Linked DNA regions of Homo sapiens: region 1 is linked to region 2. Evidence: promoter capture Hi-C in 16 types of primary human blood cells and fetal thymus (Javierre and others, 2016). All regions are on one chromosome and are shown on one strand. Each heading gives the region's core, a stretch centred on a gene start or on the middle of the fragment in contact. The rest is flanking DNA. Distances are from core to core; before and after follow the strand shown.

The links. Contacts are between HindIII fragments. The CHiCAGO score rates a contact against its expected background, and 5 or more counts as called.
Region 1: the fragment with the promoter of RPS13 here is called in contact with the fragment with the promoter of SVIP in region 2 in 1 of 17 cell types (non-activated CD4 T cells); the score reaches 6.0 in non-activated CD4 T cells.

The regions. Positions count from the first base shown.
Region 1 is chr11:17,075,886-17,079,665 of GRCh38, forward strand. It overlaps RPS13 (ribosomal protein S13), which reads right to left and starts at 1,782. Exons shown (of 6, transcript NM_001017.3): 1 at 1,734-1,782; 2 at 1,544-1,592; 3 at 1,283-1,361. The coding sequence starts at 1,756. RefSeq lists an enhancer at 1,816-2,015. The HindIII fragment of the contact is 8,959 bases long and covers 1-2,583 here.
Region 2 is chr11:22,827,654-22,831,473 of GRCh38, forward strand. It overlaps SVIP (small VCP interacting protein), which reads right to left and starts at 2,148. Exons shown (of 4, transcript NM_148893.3): 1 at 2,042-2,148; 2 at 171-221. The coding sequence starts at 2,095. It overlaps LINC02718 (long intergenic non-protein coding RNA 2718), which reads left to right and starts at 1,761. Exons shown (of 11, transcript NR_187210.1): 1 at 1,761-1,958. RefSeq lists an enhancer at 1,743-2,052 and a silencer at 2,203-2,272. The HindIII fragment of the contact is 1,537 bases long and covers 929-2,465 here.

The DNA.
Region 1 (3,780 bases), core at 532-3,031, 5.8 Mb before region 2:
TGACCAAAGGGATTAATGAGATTCCACAGCTAACATTTACTGAGAACTCTGGTCAGATATTCTTCTAAAAACTTTACACGTTATTTCTTTTAAACCTCTAATGAGCTCTGACTACTTACAATCTATGACATATTTTCTTTTGATGTGTCATACCTCCAATTAGACTACAAGCTCCAGGAGTACAGATATTTTGCACCCCCCTCCCCCTTTTAAGAGGTGGGATCAGGTGGTGTGGCTCACGCCTGTAATCCCAGCACTTTGGGAGGCCGAGGCAGTGGATCATCTGAGGTCAGGAGTCTGAGACCAGCCTGGCCAACATGGTGAAACCTCGTCTCTACTAAAAATACAAAAATTAGCCGGGCGTGGTGGTGCGGCCTGTAGTCTCAGCTACTCCAGAGGCAGAGGCAGGAGAATTGCTTGCTTGAACCCAGGAGGCGGAGGTTGCAGTGAGCCGAGATCATACCACTGCACTCCAGCCTGGGTGACAAAGTGAGAATCGGTCTCAAACAAAAACACACAAATTAGCTGGGCCTGCTGGCGGGCGCCTGTAATCCCACCTATTCGGGAGGCTGAGGCAGGAGAATCGCTTGAATCCAGGAGGTGGAGGTTGCAGTGAGCTGAGATCGCGCCACTGCACTCCAGACTGGGCGACAAGAGCAAGACTGTCTCAAAAAAAAAAAAAAAAAGAGGTGGGGTCTCTCTGTCACCCAGGAGTGCAGTGGCTTCATCATAGCTCACTGCAGCCTGGGACTTCTAGGCTCTGGTGATCCTCTCACCTCTGCATCCCAAGTATCTGGGACTACAGGCACATTGCGGCTGGCTTTTTTGGGCGGGGGAGTCGGAGAGTAGTATGTTCTCAGGCCCCAGAACCATGTTCAGCACATAGAAGGTAAACATTTGCTGAATGAAGCCACTTGCACGAAGTCACACGCAGCTGAGATTCAAACCACACCTAACTGTGAGGAACTGTGTCAGGCACTCTGCTTAGCCAATTCCAACTCCTCCACTTGACAGCTGTGTGATTTGGGGCTGGTTAGTATCCAGCGGCAGTGTGCCTCTGCTTCCTCAACTGTAAACTGGGGTGAAAGCCATGAAGATTTATTTCAAAGTATTGTGGTCAGAATTAAACGAAATCAGTACATGTGAAGTGCTTACAATGATGCCTCTAGCACGGTGGCGAGACCAGAGTTTTGGCTATTTTTAAAATAACTTTACCACCTACTAGATCCTACAAGTCACACGAGGACAGGCGAAATAGGCTATGTTAGACACAAACACTCACCGATCTGTGAAGGAGTAAGGCCCTTCTTGGCCAGTTTGTAAATCTGCTCCTTCACGTCGTCAGATGTCAACTTCAACCACTGTTATGGAATAGAAAGCAGCCTTAGGATGAGAACCCAGGAATGGCGCCGCAGAACAGCGGTCTCTCCTTCCGCAAAACCGCGCTCCTCATACACGCAAGTTCCTCACCCTGGCGTCGCTTCACCCGAGACAAATGCCAACCCCCTCCCCGGATTCTCCCCGGTCCCAGCGCGCTACTTACAGTGGGGACGCTGCGTCGATAGGGTAAAGCCGACTGGGACAGGCCCTTCCTGGGGAGAGAAGCAGTCTCGAGGTGAGGTGGCGGCTAGTGCCAGAGCAGCCCAGAACATCATCCCCTCGGCCCGCTGCCCACACTCCCTGTCTTCCTCCCACCCCCCGCCCAGCAATCCGGCTTGATGCCCCGAGCTCACCCGGGAGCATGCATGCGACCCATGATGGCGGCGATCAGGCAACGAAAGGAGAGCGAGAGTGGAAACGCCGCAGGAAGCCACCCAACACGCAGGAAGTGACCTCACACGTCCCCGCTTCCTCTCACGCAGGAGGCGGAGCTACGCTGCGCAGCCACCGCCCGTCTGTGTGACTACATCTCCCGAAATGCATTTCAGCGTCGCAAGAGATCGTCAATCCAGCCTCATCCCGGCATGCATCGGTCTTTGGTCAGCCTTGTTGCCAGAGCGGGAATTTGAGGCTGACGCCAGCTTGCGTCGAAATTCCCTGTGGACGCCGAGATCACAAAGATTCGAATGCTGCGCTGGGGGTGGGTATGGAGCAGGTAGGGCTGGAAGAAGCAGCCATACACAGGTGTTTGCTCATTCACCAGTGCCTGGCTTTGTCCTGGCACTAGATCCCTCAGAGTCGGCCCTGCGCCTAATAAATTAACAGATACAATAGCATGTGATGAGGACCACACGGGAAGCCATGGCAGCGGCTACCGCCCAGCCAGCGCTTCCATTTCTCATTTCTAAATCCTACCCTAATCTGTCAGGGGAGAGTCGCTGACGGTGAAGAACCGGTCTAAGGAGTTGAACCAGGTCCCCACGGATGCCTGCCGCCCTCCGCACTCGAATTCCCCTGCGCAGGGCTCTGGGGCGCTGGGCTCGCCGGGGAGAAGGGTTGGGCAGAGGCTTACGGAGCTATGTTCCCAAGTGAGAGAGTTGGCGGGCAGGGAAGAGCCTTGGGAGCAAGACTGCAAAGGCCAAGAGGATGAGGGATAAAATGAAGCATTTGAATTTCATGGGAAAAGGGAACCGTCAAGGAAGAAGCTTTTTTTTTTTTTTGAGACGGAGTTTCGCTCTTGATTCGCAGGCTGGAGTGCAATGGCGCGATCTCGGCTTGCCGCACCCTCCGCCTCCCGGCTTCAAGCGATTCTCCTGCCTCAGCCTCCTGAATAGCTGGGATCACAGGCATGCGCCACCACTTCCAGCTAATTTTGTATTTTTAGTAGAGACGGGTTTTTCCATGTTGGTCAGGCTGGTCTTAAATTCCCGACCTCAGGTGATCCGCCCGCCTCGGCCTCCCAAAGTGCTGGGATTACAGGCGTGAGCCACCGCGCCTGGCCGGAAGAAGCTCTTTTAAGACAGACCTAGCCTGGGCAACATGGCGAAACCCCCTCTCTATAAATACAAAGAATTAGCCGGGCGTGCTCGCTCGTGCCTTTGGTTCCAGCTACGAAGGAGGCTGAGGTGGAGAATCTCTGGAGCCGGGAAGGACATTGCGGTGAGCCGAGATAGCACCACTGCGCGCCAGCCTGGGCAACAGAGCAAGACTCTGTCTTAAAAAAAAAAAAAAAAAAGGAAAGAAAGAAAAAGACTGACTCAGTGCCGGTACACAACAATGCGTTGAAAGAATGGGCAAATGAAGCAGCTTCTTAAAATTTTAAAAAGTAAGCATAGCTCTAGGAAGGAGGGAGGTCAGTGAAATCAAACTCCTGTCGACAAGCTTAAAGTAACTGGCAAGACGCTGGGAAACTAGATACTGAAACATCCGCTCTTAACTTTTAACCTGTCACTATTTGAAATAAAGTTATCAGGGATAGCCGGGCGCGGTGGCTCACGCCTGTAATCCCAGCACTTTGGGAGGCTGAGGCGGGCGGATCACGAGATCAAGAGATCGAGACCATCCTGGCTAACACGGTGAAACCCCGTCTCTACTAAAAATACAAAAAAATTAGACGGGCGTGGTGGCGGGCGCCTGTAGTCCCAGCTACTCAGGAGGCTGAGGCAGGAGAATGGCGTGAACCCGGGAGGCGGAGCTTGCAGTAAGCCACGATCGCACCACTGCACTCCAGCCTAGGTGGCAGAGCGAGACTCCGTCTCAAAAAAAAAGTATCAGGGATAAAGAGAGAACCCTTTATAACAACAAACGGGTCAGTTCTCCAAGAAAACAACACCCCTCCCCCCCAAAAAAGCCATAATCTGTCACTATTTGATTAATAACTTTTCCCAAAGCATTAGGAAT
Region 2 (3,820 bases), core at 898-3,397:
TAATGCAATTCATATAAATAAGGAAATCATTTTGAAAATAATTACATTTAAATGTAAATTTTTGGGATATCAAAGGCCATTTGCGTTAGAAAATCTAGCTATGGACATCTATGAAGAATAAAGTCCAAACTCAATTATCTAAGTAGGCAAAACTTGATCTTTAATCTTACCTCTTTTTGTCTTCTCTCTGCAGCCTCTGCAAGCTTTGCTCTTTTCTCTTCCTAAATAAATGTGTAAAAATATGTATTAAAATAACAAACATTATTATTAATAAATTATTCACATTTATTTCATAGGCACTATAACAATTTACAAAAATATTCGGTACTGGCCCTAAATGTCCCACAAAGAATGCCACTACTCAACTTTTTGAATTTCATTCTCCTAATCAATATGCCTTCAAATCAGCACATGCTAAAACAGATACAAGGTTTACCTATATAATCATTTATTTACTCTCTTTTTTAATAAAAAGGCCTACAAGCTAGTCAGGGCAATAACAAAACAAATAATGTTTACAAATACAAAAAGGAAAATACATGGTTTGTTACTGCCGGTTAAAATGGAGTCTGAAGTAACCTGGTGTTTTTAGGAAAGGTTAATAAATGAAGTGGGCTAATCTCAGTGTGTAGGAGGGAAGGACTGGAGTAATTTCATGAGAGGTATTGTTCCATATCAGAAAACAGTGAATGCTATTTTTCTAGACCATGTACTACTTATTATAAAGCCCTTTTTCTAGGTGCTGGGATACAACAGTGTAAAAACATAGATAAATGTCTCCTCCCAAATGAAACAAATTCCAATTGCGGGCGCACAGACAAATATAATGAAGTAAGTAAACGTCTGTCAGATGGCATGGCAGATAAGTAATGGGAGAATGGGTGGGTGGTATTGTGGGGAATATATTTTGTTTAACGTGGTCAGCAAAAGCTTCACTGGTAAAGTGACATCCAAGCAGTGAGCCGTGTGGTTATCAAGGGAAGAGGGTATAGTATGAGGATGGGGGGGAGGGCTTAACAAATCTGACATGTTATATTTTATCGACAGCCAGAACAACAAAATCAACTTAATTTAAAACAACAGCAGCAACAAAGAGAAGCTGAACTTTCCCACATCAAATTTATAAGTACTAAATTTTTAGTATCTATAGTAGCTGAAGAGTTAATGTACTTCCCAAAAATACTTCATTTTCTTCAACTAATTTTTAGCTAGAGAAGAGAAACAGGTTTATGTTAACTCCCTGTAAGGAGTACTAATGTAAAGATACTGTTAACAGAAAGCTACAAAAAGTGTACATGTATTGTACCACACACCCACTAGCTACATTTGAATTTCAGATAAGCAATGAGTAATGTTTTTGTAGAACTAGATCCCTAATATTGCATGGCACAAAACGATATTATAAACGTATTCCTTGTATATCTGAAATTCGAATGTAACTGGGTGTCCAGTATTTTTATTAAATACGACATTATAAATTGGACACTCTGTACTACATATTCTTTTAAAGGGAGAACGTAAAAGAATGAGATAAATACTAAAAAGAAATCATTAAAAAAACATATCCGATAAAGCTCAGGCGTATAAGCGACTTTCCGAGCACCTTCTTTTAAAAGATGGTAGACACAGTTGAAAACGCACATCTCCTAGACGACTAAAGAGCTCCCGGAGAAAGCAATGTCTTTTCGCGCCGAATTCCATCTACCACATCCCCCGGAATGTCCCACGCGTAACGCCCTCTGCGTGCGCCGGCGCCCTATGAAGATCCGGCGCAGCTAAAGTCAGTGGAAGGTAGAAAGACGCCACAGCCGCCTTTCGACAACTTTTTGTTACAAAAGTGGAGATCTACACGGAGGCGACGGCCTAGGTCGCTCTGACAGGACCCAACGACCCTCCTGACGCGTCCACCCGTCCTCGCTAGCAGGGTCCCCCAGCGGGCTCTCGACCTGCGCCACCAGGTACAATGGCTCGGCCCGCCCCGCAACCCGAGGACAGGTGCTCAAGGCGCGGCCCGGCGGACGCAGGGACCTGCTCTACTCACCAGGTCCGGCGTGGGAGGCGCGGACTCCCCGGGACAAGGAAAACACAGCCCCATAGGGACGACAGCTTGAGAACCCTGACCGGGTCCGGCCCAGGCCAGGCGGCGCTAACTGCGCGGTCCGGAGCCGGTCCCTGGTCCTCCGCGCTTGCCCCGCCCCCACCGCCCTCCACTGGCTCGGCTCCGCCCCAGCGGCAACGCCCCGCCCCCACCCCGCAGCTCTGCCCCGCCTCGCCTCTCTGCGGCAACGCCCCCCTCTTCTCGCGACACCAACCAGTCCCACAGCTCAGCTGCGCCCCCTTAAGGCATTGCCCCTTCCTCACCCACAGCTCCGCCTACCCCCGCCCCGCGACCGCTGGGCTTGTGGCCAAAGCCTAGGTTCCAGGAAACACCTGCTGTGGGTAGCAATGCAGGGAAGGGATGGAAAAGCTTCGCTACGGTTCCAAAGCTCTTCCTGCTAACCTTGCCTTACCATTTATAAATGAATGAGTGGTACAGCTCTGGGTAGTTCATGCTACCTTTTTTTATGAGATGGGACTCTGGTGTCCTAGAAATTAAAGCCAAAATTCCAAGTAAACATCAGCACCCTTTTCTCCCTTCTTAGTGACAGTGCTATTCCAGAACAGAGGGCAGAATATAAAATCCATTATTATGACGATGAATCTAGCGTCATAAATGTGGCATTAGTTGACATTTCCACTAGTTTCTGGTATTTAGAAGTCATTTATCCTTCCGAGAGAAATAATAAAGTTTCATCTACTGAGAAATGTTTTAATGATTCTCCTCAAATTTTAATAAGTATGAGAATCAGCTGGGCAACTAGTTAAAATTTACTTGCTGATTTAGTAAGTATAAGGTGGGACCTGAGATTCATTTCCAGTAAACCCACAGGTGATACTAAAGTTACTGATCTCGTCTCCACACAAATGCTTTTATTTTATTTTATTTTATTTTTGCATTCTATTAGTTATTTCTGCTTATGTAAAAATTTTCAAACATTACAAAAAGGTAGGATGTATAGTGACAGCGTCTCAGAAACCATTGTCGGCTTTTTGATATACTTGCTGGTTAATTTTTTATAGATGTATAATTTACATATAATATTATGCACTTATTTTGATTGTAGAGTTCACTGAGTTTTAACAAACATGTGATCACCACATTCAAGATATGTAAGTTTTCCATCACCCAAAAACCTTCTATTGTACCCAATCCCATTCAATACTTTATCCTATACCTAGATCCAGGAAACTATTAATTTGTTTAATATCACTTTAGTCTTTAAGTTTTGCATAAATGTTAATATCACTATAGTCTTTAAGTTTTACATAAATGAAATATACAATATGTTTTGCAAAAGCCATAATATTTTCTAAATTCTTCCATGTTATTGAATGAAACAGTAGTTTATTCCTTAAATAATAGGGGATGATGCTTTTTTAATACTATTATTCGATTGCATGGGCCGTTTCTAAGGGTAAATAAAAATATATAAAGAAAAAGTGAAGGTTCTCTGTTGCAAAAAGAGAAAGATAACTACCCACCTCCTCTTTAGCATTGTGTTTAGAAAACGTGAAATTGTAAGCGCTATCTCTGTCTCACTGAAATGTATGAAAAAAAAAAAAAGGCCAGGCATGGTGGCTTACTCCTGTACTTTTGGAGGCCAAGGTGGGTGGATCACCTGAGGTCAGGAGTTTAAGACCAGCCTGACCAACGTGGGGAAACCCTTTCTCTATTAAAAATACAAAACTTCGCCAGGCATGGTGGTGGGCGCCTGTAATC